Regions from separate parts of the Homo sapiens genome. Here region 2 is linked to region 1. Evidence: promoter capture Hi-C in human tissues and cell types (Jung and others, 2019). All regions are on one chromosome and are shown on one strand. Each heading gives the region's core, a stretch centred on a gene start or on the middle of the fragment in contact. The rest is flanking DNA. Distances are from core to core; before and after follow the strand shown.

Region 1 (3,277 bases), core at 455-2,954:
TGGCCTAAGAGACAGGAAGTGGCCCAGACTGAGACTGAAGAGGGCTGGACCAGGGGGAAGTGAAGAGAGCAGGACTGGGAGCAGCTACAAGATAGGATTGAGGAATTTCAGGCTGAAGGAAAGAAAGGGTGGAGGCCTCGCCAGACAGCAGCGAGGGGGCGGGGCTAGGCAGGAATGAGGGCGGGGCTTGAAAGTGAGGGGCGGGGCTAGGGGAAGAAGGGAGGAGGACGGTGTGGGGGGGTGAGGGAGAAACGAAAGAGGATGGGGGAGTGAGAAGAGGGTGGGTGGGGGCAGGAGGGGAGAAGCAAGGGGGCAAGTGGAAGGGGAGGTAGCAAAATAGCTTGGAAGTGGTGGGAAAGACCAGGAGGATGAGGGGAGGGAGCAGGTGGGAGGGAAAACAGGAAAGCAAGAGAGATGATGGGAAAGTGGTGAGAAGTGAGGGATGGGACCAGGGGAACAGAGGCAAGGCCAGGAGGGAAAAGCGAGGGGGCAGGTGGGCGGAGAGGATGGGAAGCGAGGAGAAGGAGGGAGGGGGTAAAAACGGCGGAGGAGAAAAAAAGGAGAGAAGCAAGGGGGCGGGACCAGGAAGAAGTGAGGGCCGATGCTAGGAAAGAAGTGAGGAGGCGGGACCAGGAAGAAGTGAGGGCCCAGGCTAGGAAAGAAGTGAGGAGGCGGGACCAGAGAGAAGCGAGGGAGCTGGACGCAGGGAGAAGCGAGGGGGCGGGGACAGAAAGTTAGGAGGCGGGAGCAGAGAGGAGCGAGGGGGTGGGGCCAGAGAGATGGGCGGGGTCAGGTTTGGGGAGGAAAGGTGGGGAAGAGAAAGGACCACAGGGATGGAGGTGAAAGGCAAGGGGGCGGGGCCTGGGGGGAGAAGCGAGGGGTCAGGTGCTAGGGAGAGGAAGGGAAGCGAGAGGCAAGGGGCCGAGCCGGGGAGAGGTGAGGGGAAAGGGCCTGGAAGGAGATGCAAGGGGCGGGGCCAGGAAAAGAGAAGCGAGGGGCGGGGCCAGGGAAGGAGATGCAAGGGGCGTGGCCATGAATGGAAATGAGAGGGGCGGGGCCAGGACGGAGATGCGAGGGGGCAGGTGCGGGGGAACGGGAGGGAACGCGAGACCGAGGGGGCGCGAGCGGCCAGGGGGCGGGGCCGGGCAACGGCGAGGGGGCGGGGCCAGGAGGGAGAAGCGAGGGGCGCACGCCGAAGGGGGTGACGAGGTCCTGGGACAACGGCCGGCGTGGGGGAGGGCCGCTTCCAAGGGCGCCCTGCGGGGAATTCCGGGGCGGGCGAGGGGGCGCCGGGGCGCGGGTGGGCCTCCCGCCGGCCGTACCTGTCAGACGGATCTTGATGCTGGAGCCGTTCCTGCGTGTCCCGGGGTTCGACATCTCCCGCCAACGATCGGGCAGCCGCGGATCCAGCGCCACCGCCCCCCAGCCCGGCCCGGCCCGGCCCCGCCGCCGCCGCCTCAAGGTTACGGCTCCGGGCTGGGCGCCGGGGTCCGAGCCGGGACACAAACTCCGCGGCCCAGGCGTCCGGGCGGCAGGCGGATGGTCGAGCCGGGAGATCGGCGCTTGCTGCGGCGCTCTGACCCTCGCTGCTTCCAGCCGAGCCCAGTCCCGAGCCGCCGCCGCCTCCGCCGCCGCCTCCGCCGCCTCCACCACCTCAGAGCCGGACGCCCGCCGCCCTCGCCGCTTCCGCCGCTGCCGCCGCCTCTCCGAGCCGCGCGCGCGCCCGCCGCCGTGCCGGCCCGGCCCTGCGCGCCCCCGCGCCTGCGTGCGTGCGCGCCCCCGCCACGTACGCTGGGGCGGGGCGGGGTGCGCTGCTACGTCGCCCGCACGCCTGCCTCGGGCGCGCGGGGCCCGGATCCCGCGGGTTGGGGTCTTCACCCTTCCTGTGGTCGGTGGGTGGGAGGGTCTGGCCCCGAGCCCGGGAAGGGAGAGCAGAGCTGGCCCCGGGACCCAGCGCGCGGTCGCCCTCTGTCTTGACCCCTGTCTCTGCGAGGCTCTGGGCTCCTGAGTGACTGAAGAGTGGTTTGCATGAAACCGTGGGCTGTGTCCACACCAAGCTCCTTGCACACAGGCGTGCAATACCAGTTTTTTTCAGTTAAGAGCTTTCGATCGTGCAAGTTCAAGGGAGGGACTTCTCAAAGAGACAAAGCCCTTAGGTGTGTTCTGTGCAACGGGTGTGCTCCACTGACCCATAACAAAGTTGCCAGAATCGCAGAAGTGCCATATACGGACAAGGAAAACGAGATGAGAGGGAGGGATAAAGTTGAGAGGCGGATGTTTGTTATTATCCATTCTGCATACAATTTTACCAAACAAGAAAGTGGCATTGTGGTTTGTGTTCCCATGTCTTCTGCTAAATTTCCCCTTCTCCCGGGGTTGCAGGTTAGAACCAAAAGCTCATGGCTGGGTACGGTGGCTGTAGCCTGTAATCCCAGCACTTTGGGAGGCCGAGGCGGGCGGATCACTTGAGCCCAGGACTTTGAGGCCAGCCTGGGCAACATAGGGAGACTCCATCTCTACAAAAAATACAAAAATTAGCTGGGCATGGTGGTGCGCGCCTGTAGTCCCAGGTACTGGGAGGCTGAGGTGGGAGGATCACTTGAGCCCCAGAGTTCATGGCTGCAGTGAGCTATGATCAGGCCACTGCACTACAGCCTGGGTGACAGAGCTAGACACTGTCTCAAAACACACACACACACACACACACACACACACAGAAAAAGCTCATTATGCGCTTTCTCCAGCAAACAAACTCCTCTCTGTTAGCATGTTATAGAAATAAACTGGTATTATTAGAAAGAGGGAAAACTAGGTTTATCAAACTTGTTTTTTACCCACTACCTTGTTGTTGTTGTTGTTGTTTTTTGAGACAGGGTCTCACTCTGTCACCCAGGCTGGAGTGCAGTGGCACGGTCTTGGCTCACTGCAACCTCCACCTCCCAGGTTCAAGTGATTCTCGTGTCTCAGCCTCCTGTATAGCTGGGATTACAGGCGTTAGCCACCACACCCAGCTAATTTTTGTATTTTTGGTAGAGATGGGGTTTCGCTGTTTTGGCCAGGCTGGTCTCAAACTTCTGAGCTCAGGTGATCTGCCCGCTTCAGCCTCCCAAAGTGCTGGGATTTCAGGCCTAAGCCACCGCTCCCAGACCCCACTACCCATTTTCATGTACAAGTTCTTTTTTATTTTTATTTGATTCTTCATCAATCAACTTGAACAAATTCTTTTAATACTGTGTGTGTGTGTGTGTGTGTGTGTGTCCCAAGGAAAGTAGGCTCT
Region 2 (3,277 bases), core at 204-2,703, 790 kb after region 1:
TGAAGCCAGTGAGACAGGAAGGGGCATTATCTTCAGCAACAGGAATGCCAACAGCAGTCATCAATATTTATTGAGCAGGACAGGGGAGAGACACAGTTTAGGGAGGCTTCTCCCGGCTGACTCTTGAACCAAGCCCATAAAAATTGTGATGCTGACACCAGAAAATTCCAGTGAAAAGGCACAGTCAGGAAATGCTTTAGACTACATGGCCCAAGGGGCCCTTAGAGATCCTTCAACAGCCTCTAATTTGTCACAGACATGAATCCCCACTCACTGGATGTTGGAAAGAAGATTCAATCACAGAGTTTCCTTCAGGCAAGTCAGGTGTCTTTATAACTCTGCAAAGTAGAGAATCAAGAAGAAGCTGAGATTTTTCCTAAGTGGAGAGAGACCTAAATGGAAGTTCAGGAGGGACAACGGACTAGCACTCTTGTCCTTGTTCGCTGGAAGGAACCATCAAGTTGATGGGGATGGACATTGGGATAGATTTTGAGAGCAAGAGAGAACAAAGAAAAGGGTTGGGAGTGGCGGTCAGAACACATCTGCCTAGAACCTGGTTACCTACTTTGTAACATGCAGAAGTTGTACTTCCCAGAAAGGTGAGGGACCTGCCCCGGGAGGAGATCATCAGGACACAAACATCAGTGACAGGAAGAGAGCGTGTCCTTCTCACCTGCTTCTTGAAATTGCTCTTTGGTTTCCACCACTGGGAGGCTATCGGTTGCTTTCTTGTGTCTTCTGGTGCTCTCTGAAGTTAGGAAGTATTTAGAAGAGGAAGATTTGTGCTTCCAGGTCCTCCACCATCTCCCCAAACCCAGAAGCACAAGCTCCAAAAAAGTAAACAAGAGACAGAAACCGCTGACTCCAAACATGGTCTTTAGGAAAATGGTCTTCTCAGAGGGGCGGGACAGATTGCAGGTTATACTACCAAGGCAAGGTTCTCGGCGACATGCAAAGGAGCTGGGCATCTGGAACCCATACAGGTGGTACTGCAACCCCAGGGCTGCCCCCTCCAGGACAAGCCGAGCCCCCAGCTGAGCCACATAAGCCCAGAGCAGCCTGAGGCTTCCAGCCCCTGGGACATCTGTGTTGCCCTCCCGTCCCTGGATCAGGGTCTCCTCCTCCTTCCCCTTTCCTGATAATTCCCAGTGCCAGATCACGTGATACAGAGTGAAACCCATATAGAGGGCGCTGGGTACAGCCACCAAGATGACCTGGAAGACCCAGAAACGCAGCGGGGAGAGGGGGTGGAAGGCATCGAAGCAGGCAGCCTTGCAGCCCGGCTGCTGGGTGTGACACACGAATTCACTCTGCTCATCACCATAGACTCCAGGCCCACTGGCAGCCAGCAGCACAAGGCGGAATCCCAGGAGCACGGGAAGCAAGAGGCGCCCCACGGGGGTGGAGCGCCGGCTCTCCTCCGCCAGCAGCCGCCGCAGGAACCTGCCACACATCCTGTTTTGGAGCAGAGGACAAGAGATCAGTGTTGTTCACTGTCCTTCAGAGGGAGCTCCAGTCCACCTTGTCACTCCTAATCCAAGGATCACTGAAGGCAAGCTTTTTTATTCCTCTCCAAGTATCTGACTGATTAAATACCAAGACTCTGATTGCACCTCTTTACTACTTAATGAAATCATCTATGTAAAATAATAACAGTGAGTGTGTGTGGTGTGGCTCTCTCTTCTGCCCTCCCCTTCTGTACTGCTGGAGTGGAGAGGAACTCTCAGGTTGGAGAGACCAGGATACATCTTCATCTCTCTCTTTCCCTCCTTCCCTCCGTCTCTCTTTCCCAAAGGCTGAACGTAAGAGAGTAGACTGGGATGTTTTGTTAATTTTCCTTTGAAAGGTATTGCTTCCCCAGCTGATGGCTGCCAGGCCTGGTGCTCCTACAGCATCATCTTAAGCAAATTAGTGCTGATGCTGAGAGGGAATGTGCATTCTCTTGCGGTCTTCTTTTCTCTTCCTCCATGCCCTTGGATGATCACAGGTGTGTCTGGATGTCCTCTTCTCCCATCACAGTGGTAAAGTTGAGAGGTAGTTAGGTTATGGGGCTAGATGTGATGGATGAAATGAACAGAGCAAGCATCGAGGCTTGCTTTAGTCTGATGCTCTTAGGCCTTACAAGCTGAGGAAGAAGAGAACATTTGGAAGGTAACCCAGCAGAATTTACCAGAATTACATACTATAGGATTTGGGGCCAGAGCCAGAACTGACTAGATAGAAATTCAGATTTTTGACCCCCACTTGCCATTGTTCCTTGGGCATATTATCTCCCTCATGGTGACAGGCGACCATGATCAAGGATAAGTTTCAGAAATCCCTCTGTTCCCCAGCCAAAATACCACAATGCTACAAGCCCAAGTTCACCATCTCTATATTTGTCCTAATCAGCTGCCTTCCCCAATGCCCAGCAGCTGTTTCAAACCGTCCCCATTTAGCCTAAATTCTCACTCATCTGGTTACCCTCACACTCAGAAGACCATGTGGTATGGTCTGAATGATGATCAAGATGCATATGCTAGAACCTAATACAGTAGTCCCCCCTCTTATCTGCGATTTCACTTTCTACAGTTTCAGTTACCCACAGTCAACAGAGGTCCAAAAATATTAAATGGAAAATTCCAGAAATACAAAATTAATGTTTTAAATTGTGTGCTGTTCTGAGTAGCACTATGAAATCTCACACCATCCCACCCAGGATGTGAATCATCCCTTTGTCCAGGGTATCCAACGCTGTAGACGCTCCTTGCTGGTTTGTGACTTAATCGCCATTTTGGTTATCAGATCAACTATCAATACTCGTTCAAGTAACTCTTATTTTACTTAAGAATAGCCCCAAAAAGCAAGAGTAGTGATGCCAGCATATTGTTACAATTGTTCCAGTTGTTCTATTTCTTTTTTTTTTTTTTTTTTTTTGAGACGGACTCTCGCTCTGTCACCAGGCTGGAGTGCACTGGCACGATCTTGGCTCGCTGCAATCTCTGCCTCCCAGGTTCAAGCAATTCCCCTGCCTCAGCCTGCTGAGTAGCTGGGACTATAGGGGCGCACCACCACGCCGGGCTAATTTTTTGTATTTTAGTAGAAACAGGGTCACTATGTTGGCCGGGATGGTCTCAGTCTCCTGACCTTGTGATCCACCTGCCTCGGCCTCCCAAAGTGCTGGGATTACAGGCATGAGCCACCATGCCCAGCCACAATTGTTCTATTTTCTTAGTAGTTATTGTTGTTAATCTCTTACTGTGCTAATTTGTAATTAAACTTTATCATAGGGATGTAC

What was found. The method cuts DNA at HindIII sites, captures the fragments that hold promoters and counts their contacts. A contact is called where the count stands out against the background at its distance.
Region 2: a contact is called between the fragment with the promoter of GJC3 here and the fragment with the promoter of SMURF1 in region 1, in 1 of the 25 tissues and cell types used here (lymphoblastoid cells).

Annotation. Positions count from the first base shown.
Region 1 is chr7:99,142,404-99,145,680 of GRCh38, forward strand. SMURF1 (SMAD specific E3 ubiquitin protein ligase 1) reads right to left here and starts at 1,705. Exons shown (of 18, transcript NM_181349.3): 1 at 1,323-1,705. The coding sequence starts at 1,377. RefSeq lists silencers at 887-936, 997-1,326, 1,467-1,966. The HindIII fragment of the contact is 7,331 bases long and covers 1-3,112 here.
Region 2 is chr7:99,928,167-99,931,443 of GRCh38, forward strand. It overlaps GJC3 (gap junction protein gamma 3), which reads right to left and starts at 1,454. Exons shown (of 2, transcript NM_181538.3): 1 at 674-1,454. The coding sequence starts at 1,454. RefSeq lists enhancers at 667-1,252, 1,253-1,837. The HindIII fragment of the contact is 8,959 bases long and covers 1-3,277 here.